Regions from separate parts of the Homo sapiens genome. Here all the other regions are linked to region 6. Evidence: promoter capture Hi-C in 16 types of primary human blood cells and fetal thymus (Javierre and others, 2016). All regions are on one chromosome and are shown on one strand. The core of a region is centred on a gene start or on the middle of the fragment in contact, and the rest is flanking DNA. Distances in the headings are between cores, read along the strand shown.

Evidence for each region. The method cuts DNA at HindIII sites, captures the fragments that hold promoters and counts their contacts. A CHiCAGO score of 5 or more calls a contact.
Region 1: a contact is called between a fragment that was not itself captured here and the fragment with the promoter of KRT86 in region 6, in 4 of 17 cell types (M2 macrophages, erythroblasts, naive CD8 T cells and 1 more). The highest score is 6.3, in M2 macrophages.
Region 2: a contact is called between a fragment that was not itself captured here and the fragment with the promoter of KRT86 in region 6, in 4 of 17 cell types (erythroblasts, activated CD4 T cells, M2 macrophages and 1 more). The highest score is 6.0, in erythroblasts.
Region 3: a fragment that was not itself captured here is called in contact with the fragment with the promoter of KRT86 in region 6 in 1 of 17 cell types (M2 macrophages); the score reaches 5.9 in M2 macrophages.
Region 4: a contact is called between a fragment that was not itself captured here and the fragment with the promoter of KRT86 in region 6, in 3 of 17 cell types (naive CD8 T cells, endothelial precursors and M2 macrophages). The highest score is 5.9, in naive CD8 T cells.
Region 5: a fragment that was not itself captured here is called in contact with the fragment with the promoter of KRT86 in region 6 in 1 of 17 cell types (M2 macrophages); the score reaches 5.2 in M2 macrophages.

Annotation. Positions count from the first base shown.
Region 1 is chr12:52,967,295-52,969,994 of GRCh38, forward strand. No RefSeq gene overlaps it. Among named protein-coding and RNA genes, the nearest start is that of KRT18, 20 kb to the left of the region's middle. The HindIII fragment of the contact is 7,174 bases long and covers 1-2,700 here.
Region 2 is chr12:52,890,351-52,893,050 of GRCh38, forward strand. No RefSeq gene overlaps it. Among named protein-coding and RNA genes, the nearest start is that of MIR9898, 7.3 kb to the right of the region's middle. The HindIII fragment of the contact is 2,470 bases long and covers 179-2,648 here.
Region 3 is chr12:52,944,317-52,947,016 of GRCh38, forward strand. It overlaps a transcript of KRT8 not described here. Among named protein-coding and RNA genes, the nearest start is that of KRT18, 3.5 kb to the right of the region's middle. RefSeq lists enhancers at 1-33, 1,223-1,818. The HindIII fragment of the contact is 1,627 bases long and covers 637-2,263 here.
Region 4 is chr12:52,913,443-52,916,142 of GRCh38, forward strand. It overlaps a transcript of KRT8 not described here. Among named protein-coding and RNA genes, the nearest start is that of KRT8, 9.7 kb to the left of the region's middle. The HindIII fragment of the contact is 8,808 bases long and covers 1-2,700 here.
Region 5 is chr12:52,987,974-52,990,673 of GRCh38, forward strand. No RefSeq gene overlaps it. Among named protein-coding and RNA genes, the nearest start is that of EIF4B, 17 kb to the right of the region's middle. The HindIII fragment of the contact is 7,088 bases long and covers 1-2,700 here.
Region 6 is chr12:52,273,251-52,275,950 of GRCh38, forward strand. KRT86 (keratin 86) reads left to right here and starts at 1,395. Exons shown (of 11, transcript NM_001320198.2): 1 at 1,395-1,472; 2 at 2,571-2,696. KRT86-AS2 (KRT86 antisense RNA 2) reads right to left here. Exons shown (of 2, transcript NR_199073.1): 2 at 1-1,827. The HindIII fragment of the contact is 3,258 bases long and covers 1-1,911 here.

The DNA of each region.
Region 1 (2,700 bases), core at 18-2,517, 690 kb after region 6:
CATTGCACTCCAGCCTGGGTGACAAGAGTGAAACTCCATTCTCAAAAAAATAAATAAATAAAATAAAATAAATAAACAGATGGTTCAAGTTTGGCCTCTCCCAGTAGGAATCCTCTTTGTGGCCTTCCTAACATCTGGCCTCCGTTTGAAGAATTTATGACAGTATAGCCCCTGTTGGATAATAATTGTATAATTACTGGAACATTATTGTTCCTTCTACTGGGCTGAAATCTGCCTCCTACTAACCTTCTAAACTCAGCTCTGCCCACTAGAGTTACACAGAACTCCCTCTTCCATTAGATTTCAGCCATAAGTGATTATTCTTCCCCTAACCTGTATAAAAGCAGCCCCAGTCACGGTGTAAGGATTTAGCTGCACTGCTGGCCTCAACCTCACCTGCCTGAATGAGCTGGAAAATAATTATCTACACAGAAACAGCCCAAGGAATTAGAATGATAGTGATGCTCAGATCCGGGGAGGCTGTGTCCCCCTGAAGGCCCTGGTCAGATCCTGGTGAAGTGGATGGTGCTGCCACAGGAGGGATGTAGGGTAAACTTCTCAGAGACTCAGGGCACTCCAGTGATCTGGGCCCAAAGCACACAGTTCCTTTTCCTCTCCCCACAATCCACACTGGAGCAGCAGGCTCTAGTGGGCCCCTCCCAGGCTGGCAGAACTTTCCCTATCACCCACTCCCCAGAAGCAAAAAAAGTTTAAAAAGCACCAGCCTAAGGCTGGGTGCAGTGGCTCATGCCTGTAATCCCAGCACTTTGGAAGGCTGAGGCGGGCAGATCACAAGGACAGGAGTTCAAGACGTGCCTGACCAACATGGTAAAACCCCGTCTCTACTAAAAATACAAAAATTAGCCAGGCATGGTGGTGCATGCCTGTAATCCCAGCTACTCGGGAGGCTGAGGCAGGGGAATTGCTTGAACCCGAGAGGCAGAGGTTGCAGTGAGCCAAGATCATGCCATTGCACTCCAGCCTGGGCAATGGAGCAAGACTCCGTCTCAAAAAAAATAAATTATTGTACATTTAAAAATAACTAAAAGAGTATAATTGGATTGTTTGTAACATAAAGGATAAATGCTTGAAGTGATGGATGCCCTGATGAGATTATTATGCATTGTATGCCTGTATCAAAATATCTCGTGTACCCTAAAATAGATACACATACTGGGTACCCACAAAAATTAAAAACTTTTTTTTTTTTGAGACAGAGTTTCACTCTTGTTGCCCAGGCTGGAGTGCACTGGCTCAATCTCGGCTCACTGCAACCTCCGCCTCCCAGGTTCAAGTGATTCTCCTGCCTCAGTCTTCCGAGTAGTTGGGATTACAGGCGCCCACCACCACACCTGGCTAATTTTTTTTTTTTTTTTTTTTTTTTGGATTTGGAGTAGAGACGGGGTTTCGCCATGTTGGCCAGACTGGTCTCGAACTCCTAACCTCAGGTGATCCACCTGCCTCGGCCTCCCAAAGCGCTGGGATTACAGGCATGAGCCACCAGACTCAGCCAAAATTAAAAACTTTAAAAAATAAATTAATAACCACAGCAGTAGCTAGTAGCTAATGGCTACCAGATTGGACAGGACAGTGCAGCACCAGACTGTAAGCTCCCTTTGAGCAGAGACTGGACTATCTTGTTCACTCTTATGCCCTGATACATAACACAATTCCAACACATAAACAGCAGGTTGTTATTTTCTTTTTTAAAGACAAAAATTTGAAATTGTAATTTTTATTAAATTGTAAATAAAATGTTATTTTATTTTATTTAATAACCTATAGCATTTGCCAATATCCAAGGTATAAATACTGCTGTCATGGTTGATTTAAAATGGTTTAATTCTGGGAAGCAAAATTTTCAAATTTAACAATCTTCTCTTACTAGCTTTTGAATGAATAAGCAAATGAATGAACAAATAAATGAGCAAATAACAAACCAAGAGGAGTCTCTGCATGCCTCACCCAAGGAAAAGAGGACAAAGGAGAGTAGAAGAATATTTCAAGATGCCAGCAGTCCTCTCACTCTCTTTGCAGGTCCTCTTTGTTCCAGGAAAGAGAACTTAGTGGGAGAACAATTGAACTTCCTCAGCTTCGCTTCACACACACCCCAGCTTTAAGAAAGCCCAGGAAGAATTTGTTTTTTTTTTTTTTTTTGAGACGGAGTCTTACTCTGTCACCCAGGCTGGAGTGTAGTGGCGTGGTCTCGGCTTCTCAGCTCACTGCAACCTCCACCTCCCAGATTCAAGCGATTCTCCCGCCTCAGCCTCTCCAGTAGCTGGGATTACAGGTGTGCACCACCACGCCCAGCTAATTTTCGTATTTTTAGTAGAGACAAGGATTTCACCACGTTGGCCAAGCTGGTCTCAAACGCCTGACCTCAAATGATCCACCTACCTCGGCCTCCCAAAGTTCTGGGATTACAGACATGAGCCACCTCACCTAGCCTTTGGATTACAGACATGAGCCACCTCGCCTAGCCTTTTTTTCTTTTTAAGGAAAAAAAGAAAAATAAAATCTCATCTTAATCTGCTCCATTTTTTTTTCTTTTTAAAGAAACTTTCCCAAGTCACTTAAACAGTCTTCGTAATGGGAAGGCACTCAAACTATAAATCTCCCTGTCATTTAGGAATGCTCAGTGCAAATGTTTATAGAACCCGGGCACCACTTTCAACCTCTCCTTTGAAGAAGGGCTTTGTA
Region 2 (2,700 bases), core at 164-2,663, 620 kb after region 6:
GAATGAGTGACTGTAATTTACAAGGAGAAAATACAGGGTGCCTTGGGAACTTATCATAGAAACACGCCACTCAGTTTGTGGTGTCTAGAAGACTTTCTTGTCTTGTGGTGTCATAAAACTTTTTGTCTTGTCTTGTGGTGTCAGAAGACTTTCTTGGGGAAGCTGCGTTTGAGCGGAAAGCTTGGGAGTGACTAGGAAAGGCAGGGTGTTCCAAGCAGGGGGCCAGCCATGCAATGCCCTGAGCAGAAGCAAATTCCATGTAGGCTATGCCCTGAAAAGCCTGCACCACTGCATCAGAGAGCAAGGGACAGAGTGGCCAGGATGAGGCCTCAGAGGAGGAAGAGTAGGCACAGCCTGTGGGCCAAGTCAAGATTTAGGGCTTTATTCTGGGTGTCAAAAGTAAAGGGTTTTCCCATCATTCTGAGCAAACTATTGCAAGGGCAGAAAACCAAACACCGCATGTTCTCACTCATAGGTGGGAATTGAACAATGAGAACACTTAGACACAGGGTGGGGAACATCACACACCAGGGCCTGTCGTGGGGTGGGGGTAGAGGGGAGGGATAGCATTAGGAGATATACCTAATGTAAATGAAGAGTTAACGAGTTAACGGGTGCAGCACACCAACATGGCACATGTATACATATGTAACAAACCTGCATGTTGTGCACATGTACCCTAGAACTTAAAGTATAATAAAAAATAAAGAAAGAAAAGAAAAAAATAAAATAAAAATAAAGGGTTTTCCATATAAGGAAGTAACTGAATCTGATTCATATTTTTGAGAATGCACTCTGATTTTGGGGGCAGTGAACTATTCTGTATGGTACTGTAATGGTGGCTACATGGCCCCCACAGAATGTCCACACTAAGAGTTAACTCTAATGTGAACTATGGACTGTGGGTAATAATGATGTGTCAATGTAGGTTCATCAATCGTAACAAATGTATCCCTCTGAGGTGGGATGTTGATGATGTTGTAACAAATGTAGCCCTCTGGTGTGGGATGCAGGTGTAGGGGCAGAATGTGTATGAGAACCCTCTACCTCCTGCTCGATTTTGCTATGAACCTAAAATTGCTCTTTTTTTCTTTTTTTTTTTTTTTTTTTTTTTTGAGACGGAGTCTTTCTCTGTCGCCCAGGCTGGAGTGCAGTGGCATGATCTCAGTTCACTGCAAGCTCTGCCTCCTGGGTTCACACCATTCTCCTGCCTCAGCCTCTCGAGTAGCTGGGACTACAGGCGCCTGCCACCACACCCAGATAATTTTTTTGTATTTTTTAGTAGAGACGGGGTTTCACCATGTTAGCCAGGATGGTCTCGATCTCCTGACCTCGTGATCCACCCGCCTCAGCCTCCCAAAGTGCTGGGATTACAGGCATGAGCCACAGCGCCTAGCTAAAACTGTTCTTAAAAAATAAGTCTACTAAAAAAAAGTGCACTCTGGCAAGGGGCCCAAGTGAACCTTCTGTGATATAGGAAATGTTCTACATTACAGGTGTGAACATAAGTTAAAACTCATCAGGCGCCGGGCACGGTGGCTCACGCCTGTAATCCCAGCACTTTGGGAGGCTGAGGCGGGTGGATCACCTGAGGTCGGGAGTTGCCTGACCAACACGGAGAAACCCCGTCTCTACTAAAAATACAAAATTAGCCCGGCGTGGTGGCGCATGCCTGTAGTCCCAGCTACTCAGGAGGCTGAGGCGGGAGAATCGCTTGAACCTGGGCAGCGGAGGTTGCAGTGAGCCGAGATCGTGCCATTGCACTTCAGCCTGGGCAACAAGAGTGAAACTCCATCTCAAAAAAAATAAATAAAAATAAAAATAAAAAAACTCATCAGGTTGTACATTCCCCATTAAAGCACATTTTGCATTTTATTGTATGTACAATATGCCTCAGCAAGGAGGAAACAAAGGGACTTGTGATTGGCCAAGGCTGGCCCATTGTGAACCCTGTGTGCCTGGACAGAGGTCCTGTGATCTTAGGAGGAACAGTTCCTGAAAAGAAGTGGGGCGTGGCAGGAGTGGAGGTGGGGGAGCTTTGCATTACTAGAAGAAGGGGGAAGGGGTCCTGGCTAGACAAAGCAACTATGCCCACCACAATGTGTAAAAGGGCAGCGCGGAGAGTGAACTAGGGGGCCACCCACCATGCTGGTATCCTTCCCTGCCTTCCTTTCCTTGCAGTGGTGCTTCCTCTTCCTTTCCCAACAGGTAGAATCTATGATATATAATTACGTAGGGACATGCATGCACACATTTCTATCTATCCTTCATGAAGGGTATGTACTGTCCGCATTGTCACATGCCTTGCTTTAACATTCACTCCTCCATTCCCACCACCTTACACTCCAGTCAGCCTGGCCCTCGGTCCTTAGCCCACCTTCAGATCCCCCTACTACAGGGGAGCTCCTAGACCACCTTAGCCCAGATCAGCGGGCAGGCAGAGCAAAACCTTGGAATTAAAATATCTTCAGAAGAGTCCACAAATGCTTGGAAGACTCATCATTTTAATCCTGGGTGGTTGGGTCGGGAAAGGCAGGGTGGAGGGAAGTGGGGGATAATGGCTGGCTCATCTGGAATAGTCAAACAGGAACCTTCTTCTACACATGTAAATTTTCTAAAAAACTAAAATTCAGTCCCATAGGAAATCAAGCTTTAAAAACAAAAAGTCTACTAAAATTTAAATGTGCACACATTTTGCTT
Region 3 (2,700 bases), core at 200-2,699, 670 kb after region 6:
AATTCCTGGCCATAAGCGATTCTCCCACCTCAACCTCTCAAAGTGCTGGGATTACAGGCATGAGCCACCTGGCCGAATCCAGGTCTTTTGACACCAAGTGCCCTATTCATCCCTTTGCCCTCCCCTAATCTCTGGGCAGATTTGAGTGAGGCGATAGGCTGGGGGATATGGCATTGGGATACTGGGGTTGCACCTGAGGAGAAGCCAACAGCACCAGGGTCAGAATGGGCAAAGGACATAAGCACAGGCAAGGCCATTCCTGGTGGGGCTGGGCCAGGGAGCTGAGGGGCTCCTAGAAGGGCCAGGTTCCCCGACTTCTCTGAGCTTCAGCGCCTGGAGGTTTCTGGGCAGCCACACGCTTCTCAGCGCTGACCCTTCCTCTTCCTTTATCCTTGGAAAATAACCCCTAGGGCACAAACCCAACCGAAGCAATGATACTAAGTGTCAGGGCATTCCTCGACTCTCCCACCCCTGGGGAAGAGGGCCTGGCCCAAGCCCTGAGAACCCGTTCCCACCTCCACAGGCAGTGCCAGGGACTCCAAATAGGGTGCTGAAATTCCAGAAGTCTTGATATCAGACTGGGTCCTGCACCCAGCTGCCACCCGCATCCTCCCCCTGCTCCGCAGCTGCCTCTGAAGCTTGTACCCTTGCCCCCACCTCTTGTCTCTCTGCAGTCTACCTGACTGCACTTTCTGATGACCCCCACTGACCTCTCCTAGCACCCCATGTTTATTAATTACTTAAACCTAAAGTATTTACGGAGCTCCACCTATGTGCCAGATGCAGGGCTGGGCAGGAGGATTCCCATTCCACCCCAGATTCCTTTTCCTTTGGGTTCTACCCCAGATCTCCCTCTGTCTCAACAGCTCTACCCTTAACTCAGCAGCCCTGGGATTTCTCCTGTGGGAGGGCCCCCTGCATGGGTATACCCTCCACTGAGAGTAGCTGAAAGGAGCCCAGGGGAGCCTCCCAGGCGATCCCTTCCTCCCTCCAGCCCACCCCACCACAGGGCCTTCTCACTGTCTCCAACACACTGGAGTCACCCTCAGTCTTTAAAGAAGAGGATGGGAATCAGTCTCTCCCTGTTTTGTGTATAGACCCCATCCTTACACCTCAGTTGCTGTTCCGAACACCTCCCTCCTCCAGGCTGAGCAAGGAATTTCCAGCCTAAATGTTAAAGCAAAGGCGGAAGGACTGCAGGCCTTCCAATCCTCCCTAATCCTCTCATCTCTCCACCACCTAGTTTCCCCAGAGCCATCAGCTCAAGCCCTTTGTGGGAGAATGTGGAGTGGGCAGTAAGAGCTGACCCACCCCTATCGGGTCATCTCTGAGTCTACTCTGAAGTTAAACCTGCCTCACAGGTTCCCACTCCCCTTCTGCTGGACGCTGGAATGCAGGACTGATGGTGGGTGGAGAACCATTTCCCCTCTTTCCGGATTCCCCCCTGCCGAGGCTCATTACTCTTTGTGTCTGTTCTGGGAGCTTCTCACCAGGGCCCCTCCTGCTCCACCCTTTCCCGGGACTGTCCTCACAATCACGCCATCCCCCTTTCCACCTTGCTTCCCACCCCCACCCCAGAACCCTAGTGCTGGGAATCTGGAGGCCGAGACCTTCACCCCAGCTCTCCAAGAGGCTCTCTGACAAAGTGAAAAAGCCCTGAGCCACAGAGGAATCTGGAAGTGGTGGAAAGGGGCAGGCTGGTGCTGGAAGCCCGAGGTCGGTATTTGCCCCATGCTGCAAGAAGTCAGGAATGTGGCCATCGACATCAGTAGGAGAGATAAAGTCTAGCTGGCAGCTCTCCCTCTCCAGCCCCCACGCTGCACCTCCACAGGTCCCAGAAGTTTCCTAGCAGTTGGGGTGGGGCAGGAATCAGACAAGGACCTGGGAATTAGCTTGGAGAAAAATTCTAGAATCTGTTTTGATTGCTGGTAGATTTCAAAGTGCCCCAGGGTTTTTAAATGACTCAGAGAGACAGACTTCAAACCCCTTGAGCCCGTCTTTCGAATTAAATTGACCCCCTTTATCTGCCCTCCTGTATATATTGAAGCCTTCCTTACTTTGAAGGAAGGCTCCAGTACAAATAATTAGTATTTGTTTGATGAATGAGTGAGTGACAATTTACACTCACATTCACTGCCACCTGAGGAAATAGACTGGACAGGTCTTACTGTTTTCCCTGTACAAGTGAAGAAATTGAAGTTCAGAGTTAGGTGACTTCCCCAAGGTTACACAGCTAGCAAAGTATCCAGGCTGGCTGACTTAAAGCTTAGCAATAACAGTAAAAGGCAGTACGTAGCTTGTTGACTCCACATACTTTATTATAAAATACTGCCCAACTTGACAGTTCTGGAATCCAGTGGGGGAATATAAAGGTGAAAGCAGGAGAGACCCCTCTGACTGGAACCTCTTACCTCCCAGAAGCCTTGTATGCAAAACCAGTGGGCATTCATTTGTATGTTATTTTGCATCCCGTTTGCCTCCCAGCCTTCAGCAGGCCCCGACCCTCCCCTGGCCAGCTTCCACCCTGACTGCCCCCTGGCTGGCTCCCATTGAGCACTGTGGGGCTCTCCCCACCATTAGGTGACAGATCAGGAACAATCCAGGCTCAGGCTCTTTATCTGTGCTCTGCCTCCCACCTGGCAGGTCCACTGGCCAGGCTTTTCCAGGGTCCCTTCTCTCCCAGGTCTGCCCTACTATTTG
Region 4 (2,700 bases), core at 1-2,500, 640 kb after region 6:
AATTTTCAGGAGGGCAGAGGTGCATGATGATAAGCAGGTGTTTTTGAGCACGTGTCTTTATATGCATGTATCCATATAAATACAAAGCACACATGTTTGATGGGTTATCTCCCAGAACAAACAGCCTCACAGGCCCACCCCCCACCCTGTGGGCACACAACCTCAGCCTATAGCACACACGCCCTCTTGTCCCTCACACACTCTCTCAGGTTCACACACACCCCACCTGCCCTCTCACTTGCATGGCCTGACGCACACGCCAAGGTGCAGTACCACCTCACATCCTCATCTCAGGCACAAGCATGTGCGTGTACCACCCGTCAGAGTCCCGTGCACACCACCTTCCTACGAACGTCACACACATACCTGTGCACACACAGCCATATATAACACACATCCAAACTCAAATACACGGTTACAGGTTTGTTTGTTTTTTCTTTTATACAGACAGAGGTTTCACTATATTGCCCAGGCTGGTCTCAAAATCCTGGCCTCAGGCTGAGAGAGGTGGCTCATGCCTCTCTAATACTAGCACTTTAGGAGGCCAAGGCCAGCTGATTACCTGAAGTCAGGAGATCAAGACCAGCCTGACCAACATGGTGAAATCCCGTCTCTACTAATAATATAAAAATTAGCTGGGCATGGTGGCAGGCACCTGTAATCCCAGCTACTCGGGAGGCTGAGGCAGGAGAATCGCTTGAACCCAGGAGGCAAAGATTGCAGTGAGCCAAGACTGCCCTATTGCACTCCAGCCTGGGCGACAGAGCGAGACTCTGTCTCAAAAATAAAACAAACAAAACAAAAAAAAAATCCACCGGGTGCAGTGGCTCACGCCTGTAATCCCAGCACTTTGGGAGGCCGAGGCAGGCGGATCACCTGAGGTTGGGAGTTCGAGACCAGCCTGACCAACATGGAGAAACTGTCCTTACTAAAAATACCAAAAAATTAGCATAGTATGGTGGCGCATGCCTGTAACCCCAGCTACTCAGGAGGCTGAGGCAGGAGAATTGCTCGAAGCCAGGAGGTGGAGGTTGCAGCGAGCTGTGATCATACCATTGCACTCCAGCCTGGGCAACAACAGTGAAACTCCGTCTCAAAAACAAACAAAAAATCCTTGCCTCAAGCAATCCTCCCACCTTGGCCTCCCAAAGTGCTGTGACTCCCAAAGTTACAGGTGTGAGCCCCAGCTCCCAGCCAAAGGATACACATTCTTGATTGCAAGTGGCTGAAACCCAACTCAAACAGACTTAAGCATAAAAAGATCATTTCTTATAATTGAGAAGTTCAAGGGTGCATTTGGCTTTCAGCCTAGCCAGATAAGGGGCTCAGTGATATCATCAGGACCAAGACTCTCTTCCTGTCTTTTGGCTATTTTCCTCCATGTTAGCTTCGTCCTCGGGCAGGCCATCTCCCTGCTGCAGGAAGGGCGACCACTAAGGGAGCACCTCTTTCCCGATGCTTCCTGCTGAAGTTCCAGGGCTGACTCTCCAAGGCTGATATAGGTCACATGCTCATCTCTGAACCAATCCCTGTGGCCAGGGGAATAGAATACTATCATGTTGACTAGACTAGACCACATAACAAGACCCTGTGGAGGGGTGATCAGCCCCACCCAACCTATAGAGAAAGGGGAAAAAAAATGTGATTTGGGCCAGGCGCGGTGGCTCACGCCTGTAATCCCAGCTCTTTGGGAGGCAGAGGTGGGCGGATCATGAGGTCAGGAGATCGAGACCATCCTGGCTAACACAGTGAAACCCCGTCTCTACTAAAGATACAAAAAATTAGCCGGGCGAGGTGGCGGGCACCTGTAGTCCCAGCTACTCAGGAGGCTGAGGCAGGAGAATGGCGTGAACCCCAGGGGACGGAGCCTGCAGTGAGCCGAGATCTCGCCACTGCACTCCAGCTTGGGCAACAGAGCAAGACTCCATCTCAAAAAAAAAAAAAATGTGATTCACCAAAAGACCAGGAAGAAATGCTGGACAGGGCCAGGAACCATGCCTCACGCCTGTAATCCTAGCACTTCAGGAGGCTGAGGCGGGTGGATCACCTGAGGTCAGGAGGTCGAGACCAGCCTGGTCAACATGGTGAAACCCCATCTGTACTAAAAATACAAAAAAATCAGCCGAGCATGGTGGTGCATGCCTGTAGTCCCAGCTACTTGGGAGGCTGAGACAGGAGAATCGCTTGAACCCAGGAGGCAGAGGCTGCAGTGAGCCAAGATCCCACCACTGAACTCCAGCCCAGCCTGGGTAACAGAGCAAGACTCCGTCTCAAAAAAAAAAGAAGAGAAAAGAAAAGATAAACAAATGCTGGACAGGCAGAAACAACAGATGTTCACTACATATGCTAACCAAAATGTACACCAATAAAGACGTGGAACCAGAGAAGCCAGGTATAAAGATATCCGTGTACACACCGAGCCCTTCTATAAATACAAATACTACCTGGCCAAAGTCTACCTTCTGTACCTTATCAACGGAATATTGATTTCAGATAAATAAATGATTCAGATGTATGCTATAGGACTTCAGGGGAAGGAGAGAGCCCTTAGATCAAGCTGAGCTTAGGAAAGTAAGATATGGATGGAAAGATCTGGAAATGTGATAAGCCACTGGACAGGAGCGGGATTCCTATGGAAGAGTAGAAAAGCTAGATATTGGGGAGGAGGGTGGGACTAGGGGTTTCAGAGGCCAGACAGAG
Region 5 (2,700 bases), core at 74-2,573, 710 kb after region 6:
GAATCGCTTGAACCCAGGAGGCGGAGGTTGCAGTGAGCCAAGATCGTGCCACTGCACTCCGGCCTGGGCAACAGAGCGAGACTCCATCAAAAAAAAATACAAAAATACAAAAATTAGCTAAGCATGGTGGTACATGCCTGTAATCCCAGCTACTTGGGAGACTGAGGCAGGAGAATTACTTGAACCCAGGAAGCGGAGGTTGCAGTGAGCTGAGATCATGCCATTGCACTCCAGCCTGGGTGACAAGAGCGAAACTGTGTCTCAGAAAAAAAAAAAGAAAGAAAGAGATGTTTGTTGTTGGCCGGGCGCGGTGGCTCACGCCTGTAATCCCAGCACTTTTGGAGGCCGAGGTGAGTGGATCACCTGAGATCACCTGAGGTCAGGAGTTCGAGAGTAGCCTGGCAAACCTGGTGAAACCCCGTCTAAAAATATAAAAATGAGCCAGGTGTGGTGGTGGGTCCCTGTAGTCCCAGCTACTCCGGAGGGCTGAGGCAGGAGAATTGCTTGAACCTGGGAAGTGGAGGTTGCAGTGAGTCGAGATTGCACCAGCCACTGCACTCCAGCCTGGGCGACAGAGTGAGACTCCGTCTCAAAAACAAAAAAGAAATGTTTGTTGTTTAAGCCACCCTGTCTATAGTAATTTGTTACAGCAGAACTGACTAAGACAGACACAAGATCAAGGTGGGAGAAAGTGTAACTTGACCCAGCTCTGTGATGAGTTTATCCATAGCTCCTTCCTCTATTACATTTACCTTTGATTTGTCTATTAGATAATACTCCACTATTTATATATTCATTACTCATTTATCCACAGATATACAATAAAAACATTAATCAGGTGAATTACTTTCTTATCAATACCTGCCAAGAAAATACAACTAACTATAAATTTGTAATAAACTCCCAAGGGGCAGAGGTTGGGTTTTTAGTTGCTTCTCAAACATACCCCATCATTCAAAAGTCTGAACTGGAAAGTAAGAAGGAAAAGAAGGAGAACTTTAGTATGCTAGTGTCAAACAAGCCTGTCCTAATAAGCAACCCCAAACTGCTCTCCTGTCTGGGTCCAGAATTGGGTTTGGTTTTGAAATACCACGTGGGAAATTTCTAGCCAAAGTCCTCACCAGTTCCTCCTTTGACTAACAATCTCCAACCCAGGAAGTGGGAACTACAGAGTCTTTGGTAGAGGTGGTTGGATTTACTCAAGAAAAAGCCCCACCTGAACTCCCCAAGCAGAAATCTTCATTAGAAAAATAAACAAAACGACCGGGCGTGGTGGCTCATGCCTGTAATCCCAGCACTCTGGGAGGCCGAGGCAGGCGGATCACGAAGTCAAGAGATCGAGACCATCCTGGCCAACATGGTGAAACCCCATCTCCACTAAGAATACAAAAATTAGCTGGGCGTGGTGGCACACGCCTGTAGTTCCAGCTACTCAGGAGGCTGAGGCAGGAGAATTGCTTGAACCCGGGAGGCAGAGGTTGCAGTGAGCTGAGATCACACCACTGCACTCCAGCCCAGTGACAGAGCAAGACTCTGTCTCAAAAAAAAAAAAAAAAGTAGAAGAACATTAAAAAAACAGGTTTAGGCTGGGTGCAGTGGCTCACACCTGTAATCCCAGCACTCTGAGAGACCAAGGCAGAAGGATCACTTGAGGCCAGGAGTTTGAGATCAGCCTGGGCAACATAGCAAGACACCCATCTATACAAAAAATTTTAGAAGTTAACTGGGTGTGGTGGTGCATGCCTGTAGTCCAGCTACTCAGGAGGCTGAGGCAGGAGGATTGCTTGAGCCCAGGAGTTCAAGGTTGCAGTAAGCCATGATTGCACCACTGCACCCTAGTGTGGGCAACAGAGCAAGACTCTGACTCTAAAAAACAACAAAAACTGCTGGACGTGGTGGCTCATGCCTGTAATCCCAGCACTTTAGGAGGACGAGGTAAGTGGATCACCTGAGGTCAGGAGTTTGTGACCAGCCTGACCAACATGGCGAAACCCCATTGCTACTAGAAATACAAAAATTAGCCAGGCATGGTGGTACACACCTGTAGTCTCAGCTACTCAGGAGGCTGAGGCAGGAGAATTGCTTGAACCCAGGAGGTGGAGGTTGCAGTGAGCCAAGGTCGCACCACTTCACCTCAGCCTGGGCAACAGAGCGAGACTCCGTCTCAAAAAAAAAACACACACACACACACACACAAAAACAAACAACAAAAAAAAACCAAAACAGAAATGAGGTTTACATGTTACAAGGCCCTGAAGAAGAGGAAAAAAACTGTGTATAAAATACCACCTGGATAAAATAAGCCAAATACACAACTAAATGGGAGACCAGGCCAACAGGATGTCTTGGGAAGATGTCTTGAAGTAGGAGGGGCTTCTCCTGCAAAGGATTTGGCAAGACTAAGAGGGAGCAGGCATTCCAGATGAAGAGAATGATGAGTAACATGGAAAAGCCCAGCGTCCGCTCCGGGCCAGGCAGAAGTTGAGGTGACAGATATAGTAGGAAAAGCAAGCTGAGGGCAGTTCATGCAGAGCTTTCAATGCTGGAGAGTAGGGCCTTGGAAAGAGATGTGGTGACACAGTAAGAGCGCTCTTTCAGGGAGATTTATCCAGGAACTATGTGCTAGGTGGATGGGCGGAGATGAACTCAAGTGGGACAATTCCTGAAGCAGCACAGAGGGGAAAGGAAAGTCATAGTTAG
Region 6 (2,700 bases), core at 145-2,644:
ACCTCTGGGGTGGTTAGGAGAGGACAGGGTAGGGAAGGAGCATGGAGCTAAATGTAAATTACTAGTAAGATTTTAGTTTTGGGATCAGTAAGTAGGTTCATGAGTATTTCATTTTCATTATATTATAATAATAAAGTAATATGCTAGTTATAAGAAATAAACTTAAAACATGAGGACATAAGTTGAAAGTAAAAGAATGTGTTAAGGTGATTGGTTAGATCAGATTGCCTTACACATAGTAGAAGTAAATGATTTTTCCATGAAACTTATTTCAGTAGATGTGGTGTATTTGTACGTAGGTAGTGATTCATGATACAACATATATTTCTTATTTAGAGTTGAGGTTAAAAAACAGTTTGACAACTAGTACCCCAAAGAACCTCTTGTTGAGGTCCACCAGCAGATATGTACAAGAAAGTTCATGGCAGCATTGTTTGTTACAACAAAAACAAAAAACACATGTGCTACCTATAGGAAAATAGAGATATATGTATATGTGTGTGTCTATATCTGTATCTATCTATATATATGTAGTCATACTTTGGAATACTATACAACACTGAGAAATAAAACTACATGCATCAAAAAGATGAATCTCAAAACTAGTATGTTGAGGAGGAAAAAGCAAGTCATAGAAATGTACAAGGTGTAATTCTATTTATATAAAACTTAAAGGTAGGCAAAACTCAACACTAGTTTATGGATACACGTTATGACATAGTAATAAAGAAAAGCAAGGGAATGACCAATATAAAAACTCAGGACAGTGGTTACTTTGGGGATCAGATGGGGTTGGAGATGGATCAGCAAAAATCCCGCAGGGGGCTTTGAAGGTACTGGTGGGTACACAAGGATTTGTTTTATTATTGTTGCTATTGAAATCAATAAATGTAGGTTTTGCATACTCTTTTGCATATATGAGAAATTTATAAAACAAAAAGAAAATGCTGACCACAGCTTGTGCTCTCTAGCCCCTACTCATTCCTACAGGTTAAAGTCATTGCCCTACCCAAGATTTCCTACCAAGTCTTGGGACTGGCATCCCCAGTCCCAATTTCTTGCCCTCCTGTCAATCTTCTGCACTGCTTCTAGACAATCACATCTCATGTCAGGCCACTGTCCTGCTCAGACACCCTCTGTGGCTCCCCAGTGCCCATCCATAAGCCTAAGCTCCTCAGCTCCACACATTTCCTCCACCTGAGGTAGCCTTCCCCTCCTCCACTTTCCTTTAAGTTCCACTTCAGCCCAGAAACTTCCATTTTCCCACCTGGGGTCAGAGTATGGCCCTCTTCTACCCTATGCCCCTGAGGCCTCCTGGGCAGAACTCTGTGATTGTAATGAGATGAGGTCACAGAGCCCCCAGGAAGAAGAGGCCCTAGTCCTCAGTGGCAAGGATTCTGGTAGCTCTTGGGCTGAAGCTGGGCTTTGGTGCTCAAGAGAGGCTTGGAGGAGACCACAGTTCTTTCTCCATGGTGAGACTCATACACGTGGCTCCCTGGTCACACAGGGATGAGGTGTCTTGGACTTCACCCAGATCTGTTGGGCATACAGCTTTTGGGAACAGGAGCAGAAAAGTTGGGGGCAGTGGGAACACAGCAGAAATTGAGATGATGTTTTGAGGTCTGTTCCCCCACACTCCATCTGCCCTAGAAGAAAGTTTGCAATGGGCTGGTGTGAACAGTTCTTGCTCTCTGGGTTGAGGGGGTGTGTATAACCTTGGTGGAGAGCAAAGAGCATGGGCTTAAAATGTAGTCTGGCTCAACTGTCGGCTGGCAGGGTCACTCACTCCCCTCTTGCACGTGGTGGATGGAATGAGCCCCAGTTTGCCTGAGGAAAGACAATGGGAAAAGTCACATCCATCTGGCCAACTTCATGGGTGGTTGTGAGGCCCCAGTGAGATCGTGGAGTAAAAGCTTGTGAAAAGCATCAGGCACTGTGCAAGTGTGAGTTATTGTTCCCTGGCTATTCGTGTATTGAATGCACATGGGGGCGAGGTGCAAGAAGGGAAGTGGTCCCCTGATTTCATAGACAGCACTTCCCATAGCAGCCTTGGGTTTGGGGAAGAAGCTGGAATCTAGATCACTGTCCCTGGTTTCTGATTAATGGCATTCAAATTAAGGACATTTCTTCCTAATCCTAGATTTTAAAATGTGTTTTTTAAATTAGGAAATATTGAATTTCATTAATTTTTTTTGTACTAATTTAAATGGTTAGATGTTGTAAACTACAATAATCAGTTTCCTAGAGTTTAACTCTCCCTGTTCCTGGGATAAACCCTATGTGATCTTGGTCCCAAAGCTCCCCTCAACAGATCACTGCCCTGTGTTGCTGCCCTTCCTGCCTGAGTTCAGGCTTCCTTTGGCATCTTCTGGCCCCATGGGCACAAGGCAAGCTCACTGTGTTCTTTCAACAACCTTTGGAGATAGGAAAAATGATCACTCCCATTTCACAGATGGAGAAAGGGATGCCCAGAGAAGCTAGGTGACCACTGGTGACAGCAGGTGGATGGGCAGCCCTGTCTGGCCTCCTCACCTCCTGACTACAGCTCCCCTCTGCCGTCTGCTCCACAGTGTGAGGAATTAAAGGCAACTGTGCAGAAACACACGCAGAGCCTGAAGCCCAGCAAGGAGGATCTGAACAGGCTTAATCAGGCCATCCAGTGGCTGACGGTGGAGGTGGGCAGTGCTGAGAGTCAGGTGA